Regions from separate parts of the Homo sapiens genome. Here region 2 is linked to region 1. Evidence: promoter capture Hi-C in 16 types of primary human blood cells and fetal thymus (Javierre and others, 2016). All regions are on one chromosome and are shown on one strand. Each heading gives the region's core, a stretch centred on a gene start or on the middle of the fragment in contact. The rest is flanking DNA. Distances are from core to core; before and after follow the strand shown. Region 1 holds the start of UNK (unk zinc finger). Region 2 holds the start of GRB2 (growth factor receptor bound protein 2).

The links. The method cuts DNA at HindIII sites, captures the fragments that hold promoters and counts their contacts. A CHiCAGO score of 5 or more calls a contact.
Region 2: the fragment with the promoter of GRB2 here is called in contact with the fragment with the promoter of UNK in region 1 in 4 of 17 cell types (total CD8 T cells, naive CD4 T cells, naive CD8 T cells and 1 more); the score reaches 6.3 in total CD8 T cells.

Annotation. Positions count from the first base shown.
Region 1 is chr17:75,781,759-75,787,994 of GRCh38, forward strand. UNK (unk zinc finger) reads left to right here and starts at 3,048. Exons shown (of 16, transcript NM_001080419.3): 1 at 3,048-3,226. The coding sequence starts at 3,123. It overlaps MIR4738 (microRNA 4738), which reads right to left and starts at 2,849; the gene lies at 2,763-2,849. RefSeq lists enhancers at 1,400-1,579, 3,142-3,720, 3,310-3,709, 3,721-4,298 and a silencer at 3,110-3,249. The HindIII fragment of the contact is 1,873 bases long and covers 2,502-4,374 here.
Region 2 is chr17:75,402,736-75,408,971 of GRCh38, forward strand. It overlaps GRB2 (growth factor receptor bound protein 2), which reads right to left and starts at 2,943. Exons shown (of 6, transcript NM_002086.5): 1 at 2,754-2,943. MIR3678 (microRNA 3678) reads left to right here and starts at 3,334; the gene lies at 3,334-3,427. RefSeq lists a silencer at 3,001-3,180. The HindIII fragment of the contact is 6,780 bases long and covers 1-5,649 here.

The DNA of each region.
Region 1 (6,236 bases), core at 1,798-4,297:
TTTGTATTTTAGTAGAGACAGGGTTTCCCATGTTGGCCAAGATGGTCTCGATCTCTGGACCTCGTGGTCCGCCTGCCTCTCGCCTCCCAAAGTGCTGGGATTACAGGCGTGAGCCACCGCGCTCAGCCAGCCTTCTTAATCTTAACGTGCACATTATGTATTTAATCATCATATACCTAAATTTACTGTGATAACCAACTTTGATTTCTGCCTTTGACTCAAAATTTGAGGTAGGGAAAAATTACATGATTTTATTAATGCCATGCTGAGAAGAGAAACCTAGGTGGATTCTCATGCTTTATTCTCAAACCTGTGTCAAGTTAAGAAACAGGGGACTGTTTAGACACACATATGAGGCTGTCAAATTCTCTGGGATGCAAACAGAAAAATAACTTGTCATCTTTTTTTTTTTTTTTTTTTTGACTTTGGCCTAGAAGAGGAATAGGCTTTCTAAATTGGTCCCCCACTTTGTGTTCCACGATTTTTTTTTTTTTTTTTTTTTTTGAGATGGAGTCTTGCTCTGTCGCCTAGACTGGAGTGCAGTGGCGCCATCTCGGCTCACTGCAAGCTCCGCCTCCCAGGTTCACACCATTCTCCTGCCTCAGCCTCCTGAGTAGCTGGGACTACAGGCGCCCGCCACCACGCCTGGCTAATTTTTTTGTATTTTTAGTAGAGACAAGGGTTTCACCATGTTAGCCAAGATGGTCTCGATCTCCTGACCTTGTGATCCGCCCACCTCGGCCTCCCAAAGTGCTGGGATTACAGGCTTCAGCCACCACTCCCTGCTGTGTTTCACGATTTTTCTAGGTTATACAGAATCCTGTCATTTCCATGCCTTTGTGTGGATGGACAGTCATTTTCTTTCCAGCTTTGCTGATTATTAGAAACTAAAGCCACCCGGAGAAAAAAGGTATGGATATACATTTATCCATTTAAGTATGATTCGTGGAAACAGGAGTCCGGGCGCAGTGGCTCACGCCTGTAATCCCAGCTCTTGGGAGGCTGAGGAGGGTGGATCGTGAGGTCAGGAGTTCGAGACCAGCCTGACCAACATGGTGAAACCACGTCTCTACTAAAACTACAAAAATCAGGTGGGCGTGGTGGCACACACCTGTAATCCCAGCTACTCAGGAGGCTGAGGCAGGAGAATTGCTTGAACCTGGGAGGCAGAGGTTGCAGTGAGCCGAAATCACACCACTGCACTCCAGCCTGGGCAACAGAGCAAGACTCTGCCTCAAAAAAAAAAAAAAAAAAAAAAAAAAAAGGCTGTCTCTCTTACTTCGTAGTCATGCAGGTATGTTTCACTTTTTCCAGATTGGTACAACGGAGGAAAAGCAACACAGGAAATGAGGAAGAATAAAAAATGTTTATACAATGAAAAAAAGCAGAAGAAAACAAAACAAACAAAACCCAACAGTGAATGTGATGTAGTCTTGTAGGCTACTGTCCTAGTTCCTCTTGTTACCAACTTGCTGAGTAACTTTGTGCAAGTTACTTAGCTTCTCTGGGTTTCGGTTTCCTCTTTTGTAAATTAAGCAGTTTGGATGATATCATCTCCCAACTCCACCAGTACACACTTATTCTGAAGCTCATGATATACATCTATTATTTAAAATCCAGTGCTGTGAACTCTATTTCTTCAGTCAGATCACACTTGAGTATTGTGAGGCTAACATAAACCAAGTAACTTGCGTTTAATCATAGGATTAAAGCAATATACTACAACTTTTATTTGTCCTTTTGTAATTTTTCATTTTCAAACGCCCCTAGTGGCTAAACGATTTAGCCTGTTTAGGAAAAACCAGTTTCTCAACTCTGTGATGTGGCTTCTGATGTGAGGGAACTTGGAGCTAAATAAAATAAGTATGTGTCACTCAAACATTAACGATTTTCCATTAGCCCCACCACCCTTCATCCCTAAGGTTATTTGGAATGTGTTTCTTTAATGAGATAATCATTTGTTAATATAATCCCATCTAAGAAAATATAAATCAAAACCAGTGGATTTGAAATAGATTCAATATGAAAAACCAAATTAAATGACAACGGTTAAAATATCTACGGAGAACATTCTAAAACTCACAGAAACAAATGCCTAGGTCTGGGGCATCTGGCTTATTTTATAAAGTGAAGAACTTTGCTTGACTGGTGGGAAGCAGAGAGGGGAAAGATAATGTCCCAAGTAAAAAGGCTGACGTCCAGACAAGAAAACTAGAGTGGATAAATACGGGCACGCCCTACTCAAACCCAGGCCTTTCCTCTGGACCCTGTGATGCTTCTCAACACTGGCAACTTGTCAGTGTACCTCAGAGACTATTCTAGGCGGAGATTAAATTCGTCCTTGGCCCTTAATGTACTGGAAACAAGTTGGTCAGGCCAGGTGTCAGGCTGAGAAAGCACACAAGTCGTGGAGTTCCAGGTGTCGAGTTTGGCAAAGGTAAATGAAGCGCCTCGGCAAAGGCGCGGGAACTGTAGCGTGCGGTGTACCTCCTCCTTAGCAAAGCTTTCTCAATGCCTCTTAGGTTAGACCCGCCGCAGGGATGAAGGGGTTGCTGGCGGATTGCAGGTGCCTGCAGCACAGGGCCCAGAACTAAGAACCGACAACACAGATTCTTAAGCCCTGCTTGGAGCACTGCTCTGAGCTGGCATTAGAACCGAACCTAGCTGTACTAAGTATAAAGGCAAAGTAGTTATGACACTGTTGGCAGTGAAATTATACTTGGAACTCTTTCGCAGAAATCGCTAGGGCCTCCCTAGCTCTGGGCCCCTTCTCCTCCAGGCGCTCCAGTTTCATGGAAAGGCTTCCCTATGAAACTGAAAACGCGCTGGTAAGAAGGAGAAATGCGACCGGACTGCAATTCCCAGAAGCCGTCGCAGGCCCTCAGCATCCGGGACACTAGCAGCAAGGATCCCTGGGTATTGTGGTCCTGTGCTTTGCCAGCAACCCTCTGCCGACGGTAAAATTCCAGCCGGACATAGAACCACAACTCCCAGCAACCCCTGCTGCCGTGTGGGGGGTCTTCACGTTCTCGTGGCGCGGCGCAGGCGCACTGGGTCCTCGGCGCGGACCGCGCAGACTGAATAATAAAAGGGGAGCGGCGAAGAGGCAGGAAGACAAGACCATGTCGAAGGGCCCCGGGCCCGGCGGCTCCGCAGCTTCCTCGGCGCCCCCGGCCGCTACCGCTCAGGTGCTGCAGGCACAGCCCGAGAAACCGCAGCACTACACGTACGTAGAGCCCCCCCCCCCCCGCCGCGCGCGCACGCCTGACGTCAGCGGCCAGCGTGAGTCACGCGCGCAGGGAGAGCGCGAGGCGGCCTCTTCCTCCCCCCCTTCCTCCTCCGGCCCGGCCCAGACCGGTTCCAACCTGCTGGGGCCGGTCCCAACTGCCTCCAACTGCCACCAACCTCTGGTCGGGCTGTGGGGCGGGAAACTCGGTCCCGGCCGCCGAGTGGGGAAGGCGGGAGCTCGGGATGCAGAGTGCACTCTCCCTAGGCCAGGCCTTCGAGGCCTAACTGTTCCTCAGACCATAAAACCACAGTAGTAGGCTCCTTTGGGGCAGTGAGAAGTCCAAGACACAACCAAGAGGAGTTCCGTGGGGTCCAGCCCCAGAACCCACCTATGAATGATGATTAACGTGAAGTCCTGTCAGGAGATTCCGTGCAGTTTGCGCAGGAAGCCTTTTGTGTCCCTAAGGCTCGTAGGTTGTCCACGAGGGCCACACTTGCTTGAATTCACAGTCGACGTAGATAAACATGCAAAGATGGAAACGTGTCCGTGCGTGCCCATGACCGTTTCCCTCGCGGGCTGTGCGGAGCCTGAGTCTGGGAGCCCGAAGGTGATGGGTTCCAAGTATGTCTGCAGGCTCAGCAGAAATGTAGCATTAGAGGGAGCCCCAAATACTGACACTACAGGAGTCCAGCAGGATGGGAAAACCTCTTCCTGGAAGTCTTGCATCTGTGTGCTTTTAGGTCGCTGTCTTCATTTCCTTCAAGCCACGTTAAGCATTCCCTAGAGTTAGGTGATGTGGGAGAAAGATGAATAAGGGGCGGTTTCTCCTGTTAAGCAAAATGTTGCTTTCCATTTTCCCTGATGCTCTGTGAATGCCTCTCATCCCCATGGGCTCCTGAGTGATGTGCATGTTTAAAAGGATCCCCAGCTGCGAGAGGTTTTGGAACCTGGGGGGTTGAACAGCTCTTAAGTTGTTCAGTGAACGAAGAACAGAATCATCTGTTGGAGTAGAAAGAACTCAAACCAGTCAGGAGGAACTCTTGTTATAGAAGACCTTGGGAAACTGTTCTGGGGTTGGGGAACATTGGTTATAGGAAGTGTATGGTTTCTTTGTGGGATTCTTTGTTGTTGGCTGAAATCATTTAAGCTTCTTGACTACAGTCTGACTCACGTTAACCATTCCTTTTCTGATATGGACATTGCTTTCCTGGTCCTTTCTTACTGGAGATCTTTCGCAGTCTTTCCATTGATTTTGGTGAGATGTTCTTAGCTCAAAGACTACTGATGAGTTGAATGGTGTAGTCTTGATTTTCGAATCTGGAAACTTCACGTAATTGGAACTTCTTTATAATCTCTGGTTGCTCAGATCACTGTTTTTAGCAAAATAAACACATTTTGAGTCACGAGAGTCTTGGCTTCAGCAACTTGTGTTTCTGTGTTGTGTTGTCATTGAGCATACTATGGAATCTGTAATAGAAAGGCTTTCTTATTTTGGAATTGACAGGTGAAACAAGTGAACAGCTGATTAAATGTCAGTATCTGAGTCTTTGTCCTCTTGATGCTCATTTGTTTAAAACCTGTCTTTCCTGCCGGGCGTGGTAGCTCTCACGCCTGTAATCACAGCATTTTGGGAGGCCGAGGCGGATCGCATGAGGTCAGGAGTGAAGAGACCAGCCTGCCCAATATGGCAAAACCCCGTCTCTACTAAAAATACAAAAAATTAGCTGGGTGTGCTGGCGGGCGCCTGTAATCCCAGCTACTCAGGAGGCTGAGGCAGGAGAATCGCTTGAACCCGGGAGGCGGAGGTGGCAGTGAGCCGAGATCGTGCCACTGCACTCCAGCCTGAGCGACAAGAGCAAAACTCCGTCTCAAAAAACAGAAACAAAAACAAAAAAAAAGCCTGCCTTTCCATTCCTTGTGGGTAAGTATAGAGTAATGGGACCTGGCTCTTGAGGTGTCTTAGGAAATCAACAGGAGTAGGTGAAATAGCCAAGCTTGATGGGAGGTTGTAGGTGTTCTTATCTCTTTGTCTGTTCATATGTATGTGTGTTTTTATATTTGTATTTCCAAAAATCAGAGATAGAAATCAGTGGTCTTTCTTGCTAGACTTACTAGCATTCAGAAGCTGTGATGACCTGGAAAACTTCATCCCCTAGTCCTCCTAGGGCTGAGGTGCAGGGAGCATGAGGACACATATGATGGAACCAGCACACTTGCTGGCTCTGATTTTTCTTTTTCTTTTTTTTAAGATAGGGTCTCTGTCATCCAGGCTATAGTGCAGTGTCACCATCTCAGCTCACTGTAGCCTCGACCTCCCTGGCTCAAGTGATCCTCCCACCTCAGTCTCCTGAGTAGCTGGGACTACAGGCACACCTGGATACATTTTTTTGGTATTTTTTGTAGAGACGTGATTTTGCCATGTTGCCCAGCCTAGTCTCGAACTCCTGTGATCGAGCAGGCGCAAGCAATCTACTGTTGGGCCTTGGCCTCCCAAAGTGCTGGGAGGCCACCACACCCAGCTTTTTTTTTTTTTTTCCTCTTCTTAAAAGAGACATGGGCAGGGTGCGGTTGCTCACACCTGTAATCCCAGCACTTTGGGAGCCTGAGGTGGGTGGATCACTTGAGGTCAGGAGTTCGAGACCAACCTGGCCAACATGGAAACCCCGTCTCTACTAAAAATACAAAAAATTAGTCAGGCCTGGTGGCACACACCTGCAGTCCCAGCTACTCAGGAGGCTGAGGCAGGAGAATCGCTTGAACCCAGGAGGCAGAGGTTGCAGTGAGCAGAGATTGTGCCACTGCACTCCAACCTGGGTGACAGAGTGAGACTCGGTCCAAAAAAAAAAAAAAAGAGAGACGTGATCTCTCTGTGTTAACCAGGTGGACTTGAATTCCTGGGCTCAAGCAGTCCTGCCTTAGCCTCCTGAGTAGCTGGGACTACAGGCACATACCACCATACCTGCTTCCCTCCACCCCCATAAGGTGAATTCATTTATTGCCCTTGGGA
Region 2 (6,236 bases), core at 1,693-4,192, 380 kb before region 1:
TTTGCATTCCAGATAATGCACTACAATGTCCTTGCATGAAATGAAAATAATGCATATTGGCCGGGCGCGGTGGCTCACGCCTGTAATCCCAGCACTTTGGGAGGCTGAGGTGAGTGGATCACCTGAAGTCGGGAGTTCCAGACCAGCCTGACCAACATGGAGAAACCCTGTCTCTACTAAAAATACACAATTAGCCAGGCGTGGTGGTGCATGCCTGTGATCCCAGCTACTAGCGAGGCTGAGGCAGAAGAATTGCCCGAACCCAGGAGGTGGAAGTTGTGGTGACCTGAGATCGTGCCACTGCACTCTAGCCTGGGCAACAAGAGCGAGAATCTGTCTCAAAAAAAAAAAAAAAGGAAAAAGAAAATAATGCGTATTCACTTGGCACAACTAGGAAAAAGGCAACTTTGACCAAAAAAAATATATATATATATAAATATATATATATATACAGACTCTCAAAAGCCATTCAGTAATGGTGGAGAGTTCCTCTGAATTAAGCAAGTATTAATTTCTCTCCGGAGGGCATGGTGACTCTCTATTCTGTATTACTTCATTTCTCCAAAATCCATTCCTCTTCTGTTGTATGTGTAACAATTAGAACTCTGATGGACAACATGCAACATGATAACAGCAATTACTGAGAAGAATCTCTAAGTACCATCAACCAGTAGTATTTAAAACCCAGCAAGCCTCTCAAATCTGAATAACTTGCTGACGAAGTAAAGTGCCTCAAACATTTAAACGTTTGAGTTCAGGCCGGGCGCAGTGGCTCATGTCTGTAATCCCAAGGCTGAGATGGGCAGATCACTTGAGGTCAGGAATTCGAGACCAGCCTGGCCAACATGGTGAAACTCTGTCTTTACAAAAATACAAAAATTAGCCAGGTGTGGTGGTGAGCACCTGTAATCCCAGCTACTCGGGAGTGCGAGGCAGGAGAATCGCTTAAACCCAGGAGGTGGAAGCTGCAGTGAGCCGAGATCGCACCACTGCACTCCAGCCTGGGCGACAGAGCGAGACTCCGTCTCAAAAAAATAAAATAAATAAATAAATGCTTGTGTTTAGTAGAAGAAAGCTGATTATAAGAATTAACTCTGGCCGGGCGCGGTGGCTCACGCCTGTAATCCCAACACTTTGGGAGGCCAAGGCGGGTGGATTACCTGAGGTCAAGAGTTCAAGACCAACCTGGGCAACACAGTGAAACCCCATCTCTACTAAAAATACAAAATTCGCTGGACATGGTGGTGGGCGCCTGTGATCCCAGCTACTCGGGAGGCTGAGGCAGGAGAATCGCTTGAACCCAGGAGGCAGAGTTGCAGTGAGCCCATATAGCACCATTGCACTCCAGCCTGGGCAAAAAGAGCAAAACTCTGCCTAAAAAAAAAAAGTCACTGAGCTGACCCAATCTTCCTATTATAAAGACATACTAGAAGAAAACATAAGCAGGCACAGAAGCATAATCTTAAAAGAAAAAGAGTAAAAGACAAAAATAATACAAGCAAACCACACTTGCGACCTAGTGGCAGGACTGATTTCTTAGGGATGAATTCAATCTTTTGAGCCTCCCCGTTCTCAGAGAGGGGACTTCAGCCTCCCACGGCTCTCTAGCAACCCTTCTGGCTGACTGCAGGGAACGCAGGGGACGCGCAAAAGTAAAGGAACGAAAGCAAGGAAAGAGAGTCTCTTCCCGAGGAAAAAGACGGAATCTTGAAATGAGAGAAAACGAACAGCACGAAAGGGAAGAAACCTCGAAAAATTACGCCAGAGTGGGGACTACAAGGAGGAAGGGGAAGTACATTAGAAAAAAAGGGGGGGGTGGGGGGAGGAAGGGGCAAATGACTTGCATTACACAAGCATTTCGTGTCCCTAGTGGAAAGGACAGAAGCAGATAGAGAAGGAAGGAAATAACTGGAGAAAGAGGAGTAAGAAAGCCAAAATAGACTAATGCTAATTTCTCTCATGTGTCTGACATTTCGGAAAGTCAACAGCATCAAAAAGAGACAGACCTCAAGTGCACTTCAGTCCCCTGCAAACTGCACTTTCACAGCGTTTGAAGCCAGCCTTGAAAAACTTTCTAAACAAGCCATAACTCATGTGTGGCTTACAATCATAGAGAGGGCGCGCTGCAAATGAAAATTACCAGCGCCCGCTCTCGCCGCAATCCTTCCTCGGTGCAGTCCAACCTGCTACTGCTGAATTTTTCTTGACAAATATTTTTCAAATAGTTTTTTTTTTTAAGTGTCAGAATAAAGGTATCTCCCCCGGCTCCAGCAGCAAACGTTCCACCCCAAAGTGGATTCCCGCACAAAATTAAGCCCAAAGACGCCAGGAGATGGTGACGTGGTTGCCGTGCAGGTCGAAGGCACATCAATCACCACAGCTGCAGCCCACACCAGTCCCCCGCCGCCAGGCTCGGGTAGACTGACTCGGTCGGCGTTCGGCCCGCCTGGGCTTCCCGGGCCCCTTCCGTGCAAACCCTCCCGATGAAGGCAGGGGACCTCGCCAGAGAACCCCGACCTCTTCCCCCGGACTGCCCAGAGCCAAGAGCCGGAGGAGGACGGTCCCCAGGAAGGAAGCGCCCCAAAAGGGGAAACGTAGAGTCCGGAGCCCCGGGGATTGCGCTCCACGTCCCAAGCCTCGCCGCCCCGACGCGAACCCCGGGGCCGGTCCCGGTTCCCCCGGGGCCCACTCCCGCTGTAGAGCCAAGAGGAAAAGGCACGAGAGAGGCGCCGAGCGCAGCCTCCCGTACTCACCGTGGCGCAGCTGCTCCGCTCAGCGTCCGGCCCGCCCCTCCACAACGCTGCGAGCGGCCGGCGACCCCAAGGCTGCTCTGCGAGGGCAGCGCTTGCTCCCGCCGCCGTCACCGCCACAGGCACAGACTCTGCCACAGCCGCCGCCGCCGCTGCCGCCGCCCGGTCGCCGAAGCAGCAATACCTCCTGGCTTCCGCTCCCCGTCGGTGTCCCGCGAGAACTTCTCCACGAGGCCCCGCCCCGCCCCCGCGAGACTTCCCCCGGCGGAAAAGGCCCAGAGCGCAAGCGCTCCTCCTCAGCCGGGCCCCTGCGGGTAGGGAACCAGCTAGGTGTCAGGGCGCATGCGCCAGACCTCCCCGCAGCAGGTGGCCTCCGCACGGCTCCGCCCCCGGGTCGCCGTAACCCTCTCGGTGCCAGAGCGGGTAAATGACAGCTTAGCCCTGAAGGACTCTTCCCCCGTCTAATCACTTTATTTTCCTCTTCTACCAAACCTAGGCAGTTGGATGGGTAGGGGCTTGGGGGAGGAAGAGATCTTCCAGAATGAAGCACTCCAAATAGAGGACCAGGTCTTAAAATATTTGAGAATCCGGTCCGTACAAACTCTGCTGTGTTGAATGATTGGTGAGTTTGTTTGCTCATTGATTGAATCACTGCAGAGTTTGTACGGACCGGATTCTCCAATATAGGCCGAACACTGTGCTGGGGATAGAACAGAAATCTTGGCCCTTAAGGAATTCACGGTCTAGGAAGTAGAAGAAAAATAAACAAATAATGCCATAAGTACTGTTATAATTATTTGGAGTTTGCTGAGGAAGCTAAAAAAATGGAGGGGGTACTGCTACACTGCCCATTGCAGAAGAGCCTTCACAGATGTGATGCGGCGATGTCTGATCTGAGTCTTGGAGGATGAGTAGGAATTTGCCAGGCAGAGAAGCCAGAGTAAGGGCATTTCAGGGAAAGGGAATGGCACGTAAGTACAGAGGCTAAGTACAGAGGAACGGAGGCGTGAGAGAGAAAGTCGTGTTCTGTGCAGTGCTAAGTAGTTCAATTCCTGTATGAGGCCGGTGAGTACGGGGGAGTGGCAGAAGATGAGGCTTGGAGAAATAATTCTTATTTTTCAGTTCCCAAAGCTCTTCCAATTAAAGGATAGAACACAACACACCTAGCGTTACTGTGCCTTCTGGAAGCCAACAAAATAGCGCTGAGGTGAGAATAACCAAGCATCTGATTCTATAGAGAAAAGAAGCCCATTGAAACACAGAAAATGAATTGTGCTTTCACCAAGTATTTATTGAGCATCACCTGTGTGCAAGGGGCTCTGCAGGGTCAAAGACCAACCAGATGAAGCCCCTGCTTTCAGTGCTTTGTAATCTAGAGTTGCCTAATCTGTAAGACAAGCAGTTGGCCCCAAGTGCCACTGAACTACACATAGGGATGGCTGAGGAGGGAGCCAGTACTTGGTGCTGAGCTAATCAAGAAGGATTTGGTTTGAACGGCAAAGTGAAAGCAGGGAGGAAAGAGGAAAGAGTAATGGAATCAGCCTTTTGTTTTTTTTTTTTTTTTTTTTTTTTGAGACGGAGTTTTGCTCTTGTTGCCCAGGCTGGAGTGCAATGGTGCGCGATCTTGGCTCACCGCAAGCTCCGCCTCCCGGGTTCAAGGGATTCTCCTGCCTCAGCCTCCCGAGTAGCTGGGATTACAGGCATGTGCCACCACACCCAGCTAATTTTGTATTTCTAGTAGAGATGGGGTTTCTCCATGTTGGTCAGGCTGGTCTCAAACTCCTGACCTCAGGTGATCCGCCCACCTTGGCCTCCCAAAGTGCTGGGATTACAGGCGTGAGCCACCATGCCTGTTTTTTTGGTTTTTTTTTTTTTTTTGAGACTTGCACTGTTGCCCAGGCTGGAGTGGAGTGCAGTGGCATGATTTTGGCTCACTGCAACTTCCGCCTCCTGGGTTCAAGCATTCTCTCACCTCAGCCTCTCAAGTAGCTGAGATTACAGCAGCCTGCCACCACACCCAGCTAATTTTTGTATTTTTAATAGAGACAGGGTTTCGCCATGTTGGCCAGGCTGGTCTCGAACTCCTGACCTCAGGTGATCCACCTGCCTCAGCCTCTCAAAGTGCTGGGATTACAGATGTGAGCCAACACTCCTGGCCATCAACCAATGTTTTTGATTAGTCCAAGCCCCAGTAATTGGGGGGAAGAGTGATGAGAGAGAGGGGCCAAAATGCAAAATGCATGGCTTAGGTGTCATAGTCAAGTGATGGGCAACCTCTGAAGGTTTCTGAGCAGGAGGTGTCTGATATGAGGTGAAAATAAGAAAAGGACCCTCTATTTACCACTTGATGCATACTTAAGTCATAGCGCCTCCACAGGGTGGGTAATATCCCCATTTTACAGACTTGGAAACTAAGCCTTAGAGAGGTTAGTAATTTACCCAAGGAAGCCAAAATATAGTAGACCTAAGATTTGGACTAAGGCCTGTCTTGTTCTAAAATCCTCATTTTTTTCCCGCACTATGCCACTTTGTTCTAAAATAGCAGTCAGAAAAAAATAGAAATGGAAGGGAGGGACTTAGCTGCTAAGCAGAGAGGAAGACATGAGGGAAGAATTGCAGTTTTTTGTTTTGAGTGGGCCTGGATAACAGGGAGAACACAGAAATTTGCCAGTCAAGAGGCATAGCTGACTGGAGGGGGCAGGCACAGAGAACAGGGAAGGGCAGGTGAGGAGATGATTGTAAGGGTGAAGGGAATTTTTCCCTTCCACTCTGACAGTTTGAGTCTGCTGAAATAAACTGGCAATAGATTAACAGGAGAAAGCACATACAAATTTACTGACATGCAGTGTGCATGGTTACCATACAGAATATGAGACTCAGAGAAGAGCCAGGTGGCTGAAGCTTAAAGAGCACCATCTTTGCAGAGGAGAGGGAGATGAGCGGAGGTCAGCAATACTGAAAGGTAGTCAACTATTTTTAGGGAAAAGGAATGAGCCCAAACAATGCCTGGGACAAAGTTCCTCTGAGCTCTGGGAGCTGGAGGTTGTGACAAATTTCAGGAAGGTGAGGTGCAGGACTTCACTGTAAATAAAGGTTGTCTTATTATGCAGATAAAGTCTCCTAAATAATCTCAGCTGTCCTCAGGAGAATAGATGAAAAGTCTGTTTGGATGTGGTGACAACTTTTAGTCTTTTCTCTTCTCTGGTAGTTAATATTTCCTGGTTATTTGACGAGAGTCCTAGGGAGGAAATTTTAAGACAGTCGCATCTATTTTTTTTCTTTTCTTTTCTTTTTTTTTTTTTTGAGATGTAGTTTCACTCTTGTTGTCCAGGCTGGAGTGCAATGGCGTGATCTCAGCTCACCGAAACCTCCACCTCCCAGGTTCAAGTGATGCTCCTGCCTCAGCCTCCAGAGTAGCTGGCATTACAGGCATGCACCACCACGCCCGGCTAATTTTGTATGTTTAGCAGAGATGGGGCTTTTCCC